Regions from separate parts of the Homo sapiens genome. Here regions 1, 2 and 4 are each linked to region 3. The links are contacts of gene promoters, found by promoter capture Hi-C in blood cells and fetal thymus (Javierre and others, 2016). All regions are on one chromosome and are shown on one strand. Each heading gives the region's core, a stretch centred on a gene start or on the middle of the fragment in contact. The rest is flanking DNA. Distances are from core to core; before and after follow the strand shown.

What was found. Contacts are between HindIII fragments. The CHiCAGO score rates a contact against its expected background, and 5 or more counts as called.
Region 1: the fragment with the promoter of BTBD6 here is called in contact with the fragment with the promoter of TEX22 in region 3 in 6 of 17 cell types (monocytes, erythroblasts, endothelial precursors and 3 more); the score reaches 8.6 in monocytes.
Region 2: a fragment that was not itself captured here is called in contact with the fragment with the promoter of TEX22 in region 3 in 1 of 17 cell types (total CD8 T cells); the score reaches 5.6 in total CD8 T cells.
Region 4: a contact is called between the fragment with the promoter of TMEM121 here and the fragment with the promoter of TEX22 in region 3, in 2 of 17 cell types (total CD8 T cells and erythroblasts). The highest score is 5.5, in total CD8 T cells.

Annotation. Positions count from the first base shown.
Region 1 is chr14:105,247,257-105,249,956 of GRCh38, forward strand. BTBD6 (BTB domain containing 6) reads left to right here and starts at 1,277. Exons shown (of 4, transcript NM_001387567.1): 1 at 1,277-1,829; 2 at 1,901-1,991; 3 at 2,104-2,222; 4 at 2,384-2,700. The coding sequence starts at 1,456. The region is part of intron 5 of BRF1 (BRF1 general transcription factor IIIB subunit); the gene reads right to left. RefSeq lists enhancers at 903-1,693, 2,485-2,700 and silencers at 1,069-1,628, 1,829-1,878. The HindIII fragment of the contact is 26,340 bases long and covers 1-2,700 here.
Region 2 is chr14:105,548,345-105,551,069 of GRCh38, forward strand. It overlaps LOC105370698 (a long non-coding RNA gene), which reads left to right. Exons shown (of 4, transcript XR_001750918.2): 2 at 846-1,338. It also overlaps the pseudogene ELK2BP. Among named protein-coding and RNA genes, the nearest start is that of TMEM121, 23 kb to the left of the region's middle. The HindIII fragment of the contact is 1,174 bases long and covers 787-1,960 here.
Region 3 is chr14:105,397,245-105,399,981 of GRCh38, forward strand. It overlaps TEX22 (testis expressed 22), which reads left to right and starts at 1,294. Exons shown (of 4, transcript NM_001195082.2): 1 at 1,294-1,391; 2 at 2,058-2,246. The coding sequence starts at 2,097. PACS2 (phosphofurin acidic cluster sorting protein 2) reads left to right here. Exons shown (of 25, transcript NM_001100913.3): 25 at 1-903. RefSeq lists a silencer at 807-1,716 and enhancers at 1,384-1,894, 1,895-2,405. The HindIII fragment of the contact is 23,339 bases long and covers 1-2,737 here.
Region 4 is chr14:105,525,104-105,527,878 of GRCh38, forward strand. TMEM121 (transmembrane protein 121) reads left to right here and starts at 1,480. Exons shown (of 2, transcript NM_025268.4): 1 at 1,480-1,550. The HindIII fragment of the contact is 18,865 bases long and covers 1-2,775 here.

The DNA.
Region 1 (2,700 bases), core at 27-2,526, 150 kb before region 3:
ACGGCTTGGCCGTGCGGAGTTACGCACCCACCTGCAGCAGGTGATCTCCAGCTGCTCTGCATTCCACCAACACTACGTGACAAGTCTCAAGTTCAGCCGCCTGGGGGCTCGGGCACCCCATTCCTGGGAGAAATGATGATTTGTGCACTCTGGGCCATTGCATGGTGTCTGTTCACGTCCTTTGCCCGTTTTTTAAAAAACTGGGTTGTCAGCCTTTTCCTTCCTGACTTGTAGTTGCTCCTCCATCCTGGAGAGTCCTTTGTTGAAAATACCGCAAATATCTTCTGAAGAGGACTCTCCCAGGGAACATTCACTACAACTGTAACGACCACAGAGACACAGAGCTCCTGTTCACTGTTTAGCCCAGGACTGCGGTGACAGGTGCACCCATGACCCGAGATGCTGGCTGCGTCCTGTGGGGTTTCCTGCATATGGAAGTTTTAAAAGTCTAAAGCCTGGCGGTCCAGGAGGTTGCGTGTGTGTCCTCGGGGAGGAACCCTCCTGACAGCCAGGCCTCTGGAGCTTCGTCTGCACGCGAGCTTGGCATGCACCAGCTGTGCGGCCCAGGCCAGGTGACACGGCCTCTGAAGTCTGGTCTCCTCATCAGCAAAGCCAGTGCCCCATGCCACGCACCTCCCAGGATTAGCCCCAGGCCGGGAGGCTAGAGGCCCCACAAGGAGCGAGCCTGCGACTGCGATCCACAGGCAGAGCCACAGAGGCAGGGCGCGCCCTGGGGCCCAAGCTCCAGGGCTGCAGGCCCAGGGCCAGATCCTGACTTGCCCACCCGCCGGCTGTGTGACCTTCAGCGCGCGACTAACCTCTCTGTGCCTATTTCCTCGAGGAAAATGCCGGGAAATAGCAGCGCCTGCCCCTGTAAAGCCCTCAGAGCAGAGTGGACCGCGCTCTCTGCAAGCGCTGGCTGCTGGCGTCCGTAGCAAGCTAAATCGCGAAGCATCTGAACGAACGAGGAAGCCCAACGACCATCCCACAGGCCGCGGCCAGAGGCAGACTCCGGAATGCAAATGGCCAAACAAGCAGGTCCACCTGCGTTCCTAACCAAAAGATCGCTAACTGAAGAACGGGCGCAAGCACCTGCGCATGGCACTGCGGGTCTGGGGGCGGCCGCCTGCCAGCGCCGGGAGCCGCCTTCCACGGCTACCTCTGCACAGCGCGCGGCTCGCGCCGGTTGCTGGGCAGAAGCTCGAGCAGCTTCGAGGATGTCGGGCCTGGGGGCGGGGCCGCGAGGCAGCGACGTCGCGCGGGGCGCGGCCCTGACGCAGCGTGACGCACCGGCGCCGCGGCGGGTACGGGCTCGGGCGGGCGGGCGGGCGGGACGGCGCCCCCCGCGGCCGGGCCTGGCCGGGCTGCGCTAGGCTGGGCTCGGGCAGGGTCGCAGGGGCGGGGGTGGCAGGGGAGCGGGTGGCAGCCCCGCGGGTCACAGCGCCGCCGCCGCCCATGCTGCTGCCCCTAGCCTGCCTGCACGGCCGCGTCGCTCAGTGCCTGACCTCCTTGCTTTTGCTTGCAGAGCCGCTCCCGAGGCCCCGGCGCGGCGCGAGGGCGCGGGGCGCGGCGTCCACAGGCGCCGAGGCTGCCCCCGCCGCCCCGCCCGCGAAGATGGCGGCGGAACTCTACGCTCCCGCCAGCGCCGCGGCCGCGGACCTAGCCAACAGCAACGCCGGCGCCGCCGTGGGCAGGAAGGCCGGGCCGCGCAGCCCGCCCAGCGCCCCCGCGCCAGCGCCGCCGCCGCCCGCGCCCGCGCCGCCCACACTCGGCAACAACCACCAGGAGAGCCCCGGCTGGCGGTGCTGCCGCCCCACGCTGCGCGAGAGGTGAGCCCGTGCCCCGCGGCCCCCGCGCCCGCGCGCGCCCACGCCCCCAGCCCGTGCCTCTACCTTTGCAGGAACGCGCTCATGTTCAACAACGAGCTCATGGCCGACGTGCACTTCGTCGTGGGGCCCCCGGGGGCGACCAGGACGGTGCCCGCCCACAAGGTGGGTAGCGGCGGCCCCTCTCGGAACGCGTGCCCCGTCCGCCCCGTCCGCCGTGTGGCTGACACGCAGCCTGCGGGAGAGCCAGGCTCACGGCGGCGCTTTCTCCTCCCAGTACGTCTTGGCTGTCGGCAGCTCCGTCTTCTATGCCATGTTCTACGGAGACCTGGCGGAAGTCAAATCTGAAATTCACATTCCAGACGTGGAGCCCGCAGCCTTTCTGATCCTCTTAAAGTAAGTCCACTCTACTGGGGAGGGACGGGTGGGTCCGTTTTAGGCGGCCTCCGGAGGCTTCTGAAGGGAAGCACACAGGAGCTGATGGACTCCTCTCCCAGGCCCAGCCCCGCGATGGGTGCTTGGGAGCCAGCCCCTGACGCGGGCCCTGCCTCGCCTAGGTACATGTACAGTGATGAGATCGATCTGGAAGCCGACACGGTGCTGGCCACTCTGTACGCTGCTAAGAAGTACATCGTCCCAGCATTGGCAAAAGCCTGTGTCAACTTTCTGGAGACAAGTTTGGAAGCCAAGAACGCCTGCGTCCTGCTGTCCCAGAGCCGGCTGTTTGAGGAGCCCGAGCTGACGCAGCGCTGCTGGGAGGTCATTGACGCACAGGCCGAGATGGCCCTACGGTCCGAAGGCTTCTGTGAGATAGACCGGCAGACGCTGGAGATCATTGTCACTCGGGAGGCCCTCAACACCAAAGAGGCGGTGG
Region 2 (2,725 bases), core at 124-2,623, 150 kb after region 3:
CTAAGGGATTGTAAATACACCAATCAGCACCCTGTATCTAGCTCAAGGTTTGTAAACACACCAATCAGCACCCTGTGCCTAGCTCAGGGTTTGTGGATGCACCAGTTGGCACGCTGTATCTAGTTAATCTGGTGGGGACTTGGAGAACCTGTATGTCTAGCTAAGGGATTGTAAATACACCAATCAGCACTCTGTATCTAGCTCAAGGTTTGTAAACCCACCAATCAGCACCCTGTGTCTAGCTCAGGGTTTGCGGATGCACCAATCGGCACTCTGTATCTAGTTAATCTGGTGGGGACTTGGAGAATCTTTATGTCTAGCTAAGGGATTGTAAATACACCAATCAGCACTCTGTATCTAGCTCAAGAGTTGTAAATGCACCAATCAGCGCTCTGTGTCTAGCTAATCTGGTGGGGACTTGGAGAATCTTTATGTCTAGCTAAGGGACTGTGAATGCACCAATCAGCACTCTGTATCTAGCTCAAGGTTTGTAAATGCACCAATGAGCACTGTGTCTAGCTCAGGGTTTGTAAATACACCAATTGACACTCTGTATCTAGCTAATCTAGTGGGGACGTGGAGAACTTTTGTGTCTAGCTCAGGGATTGTAAACACACCAATCAGCACCCTGTCAAAACGGACCAATCAGCTCCCTGTAAAACAGACCAATCGGCTCTCTGTAAAATGGACCAATCAGCAGGATGTGGGTGGGGCCAGATAAGGGAATAAAGGCAGGCTGCCTGAGCCAGCAGCGGCAACCCGTTAGGGTCGTCTTCTATAGGGGAAAGCTTTGTTTTTCACTGTTTGTAATAAATCTTGTTACTGCTTCGTTTTTGCATTTACAGTGCCTTTGTGAGCTGTGACACTCATGGTAAAGGTCTGTAGCTTCATTTCTGAAACCAGCGAGACCCCCAACCCACCAGGAAGAACAAACAACTCTAGACGCGGTGCCTTAAAAGCTCTAACACTCACCACGAAGGTCTGCAGCTTCAGTCTTGAACCACCGAGACCACAAACCCACCAGAAGAAAAAAAAAAACAAAAACTCGGAACATGAGGGAACAAACGGCGGGACATGCCGCCTATTAAGAACTGTAGCACTCACTGCGAGGGTCCGCGGCTTCGTTGTTGAAGTCAGTGAGATCAAGAACCGACCAATTCCAGACACAGTAGTACGGCAAGGCCCGCCTGAGCTTGTCGTAATTCACGTTGGTCTTGTTCTTGCGTCGCCCCCACGGCTAGGCCACCTTCCTCTGCAACCACCACCATCCCATGAAGTCCAGGAGCTGTGGCCGTTGCCTTGCTCTCAGCTGCAGCAGAAAGTGCCAGAGCGTCACAGGTGGGTCCATCGCCGGGGGAGTGCTCACGCCATCCTAGGGGTACCTGTGTGTAGCGGGGCGGTGGTGCTGGCCATGCTGGCAGCTCCGGGAGGTGGGGGGCTCCATACGCGGCCCCGCCGCCCCCCAGGCCTGGGTGCGGAGGCCGGAAGGTTTTTTTTTTTTACGTTTTAAGTAATTGGCTTAGGAAAAACAAGGATTTTTGTGTGCCATCAAGATAACTTGTGCTTCATGTTGTTTTTCATTATGTCAGTGATTCACGAAAAAGGTAATTTTTTTTCGCAAAGACATTTTTCTGAAGTAGAGAGCTGCGTTTGACGTCCCAAGTCTCCGCAAGGTGTAACAAGACAAGCATCAAAAGTAATGATTTGGGGTGACTTTGCCGTGGTTACATTAATAATGAGATGTGGGGTAGCTAAGGGAAAGAGAAGAGGAAATGCGGACAGGCCAATTAGGCTTTTTTCTTTCACGTTACTCTGGTGGGGGTTGGTCCTGGGATGAAGGTCCGTGACTTTGGAGAGGGAGACTCCTTTTTGACTGGGTATGGTGGGTCTACTCCTTAGCGGGCTGACTGCCGTCTCAGTCGTTAGGAGCATCACATAAGGTCCTTTCCAGGTGGGTTCAAGCTTTTCCCCTTTCCAACTTCTGATAAGAATGTGATCTCGGGGCTGGTGTTGAACTGAGAATTCAAGGGAGGAGAGGATAGAAGACAGACTGGATACATAGTTTTTAAGAAACTCATCGTTTGTCTCAAATGTTGGGAGGTGAGTAGTGGAACTTAAATAAAGCAACCCATGAAGCATTTCATAAGGGGATAGGCCGATGTCTTTTCAGGGAGCAGTTCAGACTCTTATAGGGCCATGGGAAGACACTTAGTCATGGTAACCGGGTTTCTAGAATTAATTTAGGTAGGTGGGTTTTTAGAGTCTGGTTCATTCTTTCTGCTCTTCCTGGTGAGGGTGGATGCCAGGGAGTATGGTATTCCCACTTTATTTGTAGTGCTTGGGTTAGCCCTTTAATGAGCACGGTAAAGTGGGTCCCATTGTCTGAATCAGTGGTCTCTGTTAGTTTGAACCTGGGTATGATGTGTTCTAACAGGGTTTTAACTGCATCACTGGCTGTTGCGCGTGGGAAGGGGAGAGCTTCTGCCCAGTGGGTAAGGTGGTCTGCTATCACTAGTAAATACTTGAGGTGGCCTATTGGGGTCATTTCAATATAGTCAGCTTGGATGCTTTGGAATGGCCTTACCCCTGGATTGTAGGCTGGGCATGGTGGCTCATGCCCATAATCCCAGCACTTTGGGAGGTCAAGGTGGGAGGATCCTTTGAGACTAGGAGTTGAAGACAAGTCTTGGGAACTTAGTGAGACCCTGTCACTACAAAAAAATAA
Region 3 (2,737 bases), core at 44-2,543:
CTACCTCACAGAGCTGTTCTGAGGGTGCATGGAGGAGCACTCTGTCCCACCAAGGACAACTAGAAACCAAAGCCATCTGACAGCCAGTGCGGTAAGGGCGGGGGATGTGTGTGTGAGGTGTGCACACCCCCCGAGAACCTGGCCCTGGACTGGCCTCACAGGACAGGAGGCAGCCCCTTGTAGAGCTAGGGCTCAGCCCCATCAGTCTCAAAGGTTAAGCCACCAGTCACCACCGAGGCACCCCTCAGGCCTGGTGGCCACTGTCCACTATTACGTAGACAGACCCCACCCTCACCCAGGCCAGCTGTGGGCCAGTCCCGCCCTGCAATCTGGTCTGCTGCCTTCCTCTTCCATGTTGGTCCCCTTGGCCACTGTCTCTGGGCATGCAAGCCAGTGTCCTGGTTCAGTGCCTCGGCCAGAGCTGGGGCAGGAGAGGGGCCTCTGGGTGAGAGCTGGGGGTGTCTCTGCAGGGTACTGGCAGCCTTGCCACACTGTCCTCATTCCCAGATGGAAAGACCTGAGTGCCTCTCGCCTTCCTCCGGGAATGAATTCCTCATGAAAATGACCAGGCCACTTCTTCCGAGGGCCAGGCCGCCCCCTCCCCGAGACCTGTCCTGCCGTCCGCGGGTGTGTGGCCTGTAGGGGACTGAGAGCTGGGCTTGCTGGGCACCTCTGGAATCTGACCCTGTGGGCCAAAGAAGCACCACTGTAGTTTCTGCAGACCCCCATGCGGTTCATTGTGCATTGTTTGGTTTCTAGGATGTATGTGTTGCTAGTTTTTTTTAATGAAACCCTGGATTAATGTAAATAGCTTTTTGGGGAACGGATTCTAATGTCACGTATGTGACCGTGTGGACTATTTCAAGGTGCTGATGCAACACTAATAAACCTGGAGGGGCCGGCCCCCGCCTGCAGTGTGATTCTCTCGGCCGTCCACCCCTTGGGAGCACGCGGCGGAGCAGCGCCTCCCTCCCGCCCGCGCGCCCCGTCCTGGGTCGCCCCGCCCCAGCCCTGCGGCCCCGCGCGCGCGGAGGTGGCCCGGGGCTCAGCGGCATCGCGCCGCTTGAAGGGCGCAGGGCCGAAAGGGGCTCTGGCCGACAAACCCCAAGTTCAGGTCTGTGCTTCGGGAGACCCCGGAGGCCGACGCCCGGAAGGGCCCGTGGGGCGGTAGCGGCCATAGACCCGGATATGCGCCGGGGACCCCCAGACCGCGCCCATCCCCCACCCGCCGCAACGGAGCCCAGAACGCAGGCGCGGCGCAGACCGGAAGCGGAACCGGTGGGGGCGGGGCTTGCCGTAGCGGACGTTCTGGAGCGAGGCGCCGGCCCCTTGGGCCCCCTCAAGCCGCGGTGTACTCCAGCGGCCCCCTGTGGCCTCTCCATCCGCGGCGGGTCTGTCCCTCCTTCTGTCTCCGGGTGCCCACGTACCCCCCACCTCCGACCGCCGTTCCCGTGTACCCCGCCCCCCCGCCGAACCCCAGAGTGCCCACGGCCTCCAGCGTGTGTCCTGAGCCTTCTTCCCCCGTCCCTCCGCGGACCCCGGCCGCGCAGACCCCGCCTCCCCACCGGAGAGGGCGGGCACGTAAGGGCTCCGGGCTGGGCCTGGGGCGAGGCCTGGGCCGCGTGGAGGGGAGGTCTCAGGGTCGGAAGCGGGGCTGTGGCAAGAGCTCTGGGCCTTTCCTTCGCCCCGGGCGTAGCAAGGCCGGGCCCTGAGAGCGTGCCCGCAGTGCTGGCTGAGGGCTGATGCCCCTGGAACGTTTGAGAAGGCTGGCAGAGGCGTGGAGTCCGTGCAGCAGGCTGCCGAAGGCTTTCCAGGCTCCCGGGGTGGGGTCGGCAGGGGCAGAGAGGACAGTTCGGGAGGCTGGTGTGGAGAAGAGCTGCGGCGGGAGCTGGGGGATCCACTCCACCCAGAGGGGTCAGTGATGCCTGACCTTTGGCTGGAAGGTGACCCTAGCAGACCGCGATACTGCCACCATCTGCCCCCAGGGACTCAGGTATTGGTGGGCACGTGGGTGGCCTTGTGGGCCCCGCCCCACCTCCCCCTGCTCCTACCCCCAGATCTCAGAGGTGTGGACAAGCAGCCTACTAGGGCTAGAGATGGACAGCAGGAAACTGTCCCCCCGGGGGAAGAAGCTGGAGTCGCACCTCTCCCAAGAGCACAGGCGGCCCCCACTGGGCCTGATAGCAGCCTGGGGCCAGCCCAGTATCCAGAGCAGCGTTCAGCAGGGACTGCAGACTCAGGACTGGGTAAGCGGAAGGAAACCCTGGCCGAGGCTACTCTCCTGTCCCCAGCCCGCCTGAGGCCGCTGTCTCTGAAAACTCCAGGCTGGTCGTGATGAGCAGCCTCAGGGGAGGGCTGAGTGGGGACTGATGAGAAACAGATGGCTGGACTCAGGAGGCTCTCTTCCCCATGGCCCTGGACGAGCACCAAGGTGGACCTGCACCCTTCTTGCTTCCAGAACCGTGGGCCGCTGGGCTCTGTAGAGAGGTCTTCCAAGGCCAGGAAGGAGGCAAGGCAACACACTTCCCTTAGCTCTCCCCAGTGCCTCCCACCCCAGGCTGAAGGTGGCAAGAAGCGGGAGGGAAAGCAAGGTCCCCAGGGGGGGTGGTGTCCTCCCAACCAGGTGGGGCAGCTGTCAGGAGAAGGATTTGTCACTGAAAGTTGACCAAAACAAAATAGTGGGAGAGGCTCTGCTGTGATTCCCCAAACTGGAAGCATCTCCTGGTCTCTCTACTGC
Region 4 (2,775 bases), core at 230-2,729, 130 kb after region 3:
TGGGGTTGCTTTTTTTTTTTTTTTTTTTTTGAGACAGAGTCTCACTCTGTTGCCCAGGCTGGAGTGCAGTGGCAAGATCTCGGCTCACTGCAACCTCCATCTCCCGGACTCAAGCAATTCTCCTGCTTCAGCCTCCCGAGTAGCTGGGATTACAGGTGTGTGCCACCACGCCCGGCTAATTTTTATATTTTTAGTAGAGATGGGGGTTTCACCATGTTGGCCAGGCTGGTCTCGAACTCCCGACCTCAGGTAATCCGCCCACATCGGCCTCCCAAAGTGCTGGAATTACAGGTGTGAGCCACCACGCCCAGCCCATGGATTGCTTTCTACTGCTTCTCCCTGCCCACCATCTCTCCAGCGACAGGGGACCACATCTCCTGGGGCTGGAAAGGAAGGCTCTTCTGCCTCAGCGTTTTAGGTGCTTGTAAACCCTATGCCTTGGTCATGGCTTTGGTGGGATACCTAGGGGCTGGGGCATCAGAGAATGGAGAAGAGTAAAAAAACAACCACTACCAAAAAACCCCATCCTCCCAAACCCTAACATCCCCCCGGGCATTCTCCTGCACCCTGGGAGCATTAGGCGACCTTTTTCTTTCCTCCCCTTGTGCCAGGACTAGAGAACTTCTGGAGCTCTCTGTCCTCTTCTGGCTTTCAGGCCGTGTTGAGTCCAGGCCCGGGGATACGGGAAGAGAATCTGGAAGTTCACTACCAGTTGGGTGGTGCCTCAAATTCTGGTCTTTCCACCAAATCTGGTGTCCCTTTACCTCTCTGACCCTCAGTCTCCTCCTATGTCAGAGGGAAGTCACAGCAGTTCTGGGAAGGAGGGCAGGCAGGCAGAAGGTGCCCTCGGGTTCTTCTCTGGCTCACACGGGATGGACAGGATGTGGGGGGAGGGGCTTAGTGCCACCTCAGTGACAAAATGAAGCCCAAGTCCCCAAACCCTAGCTTGCCTCCTGGACGGGCTGGAGAAGAAGGTGGGGGCCGCTCATCATTCCTTTCCTCTGCCCTGAGAAGAAACCTGGGAAGGCTGGGTTTCTCCCCAAAGAGGACAGAGGGTGGCGCGGAGGGCCCCGGCGGCCAGGCCAGCCCCGCGCCTACATCCCTGTCAGCTCCTGGGCCGGTGGGCGCCTGTCCGGCTGAGTGGGGTCGCTCTAGGGGGCGGCAGCGGAGTTTCAGGGCGCGGGGGGCACTGGGCGGGACCCTGGGATTCTGGGCGGTGGGTGAGGAGGGTGGAGACGGGACTCCGCGCCTGGGGGTGCGCGAGGGCGCCCCGCTCCCCAGAGCCACCAGTCCTGCGCGCCGCCGCGCGGTGCTGTCGCCGTGGCAACCGGCGCTGCGGAGGGGGCGGGGCACCGGCACCCCCGCGCTCCCAGGTCCCCAGGTCCGGCGGGGCTCGCGGGCCGAGGGGCGCGGGGCGGGGCCTCTGGGTCGGGGGCGGTGCCGCGCGGGCGGGGGAGGGGCGCGGCGGGAGGAGCCGGCGCGGCCCCGGCAGTGGCGGCAGAGGCTGGGCGGGCGGGCCCGGGAGCGGCGCAGCATCTGCGGGCGGCGGGGTAGGCGCGGGCGCGGGCGGGACTGGCTGGGTGCGCGGCTGCGTCCGCGGAGGGGGCGGCGGGCCTGGGCGACCCTGCACCTCTGGGCCGTGGGGACTGTGGGGTGGGGCGGGGGCCGATGCGGCAGGGGTGAGGCCTGGGGCCGGCGGGGTGACGGGGACCCGGCCCTGCGTGGGGAAGCCTCGGGGGGACAAGCAGAGACGCAGCCTGCTGGGAGCGGCCCAAGCTCTGCACCGGCCCGCGGCGGGAGCACAGCAGCCCCCTCCCGCCCCTCCTCCCGGGGGCTCCGAGGGGTGGTTATGGGGCGAGGGTCCTTGCGGGGCCCGGGCAGTGAAGGGCCTGGAGGCCCCAGAGTCTGTGCCAGGTCTGAGCCGCGGGGCGTGGGGGGAGGAGGGGCCTCGGCCGGGGCCCAGGAGACCCAGGACAGGTGGGCCTGGGGCCAGGTCCCTACGGAGAGGTGGCCGGGCCGGGCTCTGGCTTGCCGGGGTAGGGGCTCCGCTAGGGGCTGGAGTCCGTCCCTTCGCCAGCGCAGAGCCCCTCGGCCCGCATCTGCCAAGTGACTGAGGATCGAGCGACAGCGTAGTGGGGCGGAGGGGCTGGAGGCACGGCCGGAAAGGGTGAGCGGCGCCGTGGCTCCCCCGCTATTTATTTGGCCCCGCCACGCGCGGAGAGGGAGGAAATTCTCAGGCTGCGGCTGCAGCTAGGGGAGGCCCAGGTGGGCCTGGAATGGGCCCAGAGAGGGCTTCCTGGGTCAGACGTGTAGATCCAGTGGACGTGAAAACCGGGTGAGTGTCCCGGTGGGACCCAGAGCGCGGGGAGGCTTGGAGGCAGGGGCATGGGCTGAGGACCCTCAAGGCACCCTCCTCGCGACCTGTCAGAGCTCCGAGGGGTGGGGGTGTCCTGTGTGTGGCTGTGGGGATCCTGGGCGGCGGGTGCTGGGTGGGGGCAGGGGTGGGAGTGCAGAGTTCAACGCTTTCCCGGATCGGTGGGGCCTGCGGTGTCACCAGGGCAGTCCGAGCGCCCGACTGTCACGGGGACATTAAATTTTATGCCTTTGTCTAGACACGGCAGTAAACGGAGCCCCAGGCCTGGGGCTGTGGAGGGGGTGAGGGGCTGGCTGGGAGTAAGCCTGTCAGTGACTTTGGGGTGGGTGCGGGTGTGCGGGCCTCCATTGTCACCCAGGTGTGCACAGGCCCAGGTGCGGGGACTCCGACAGCACGGCCAT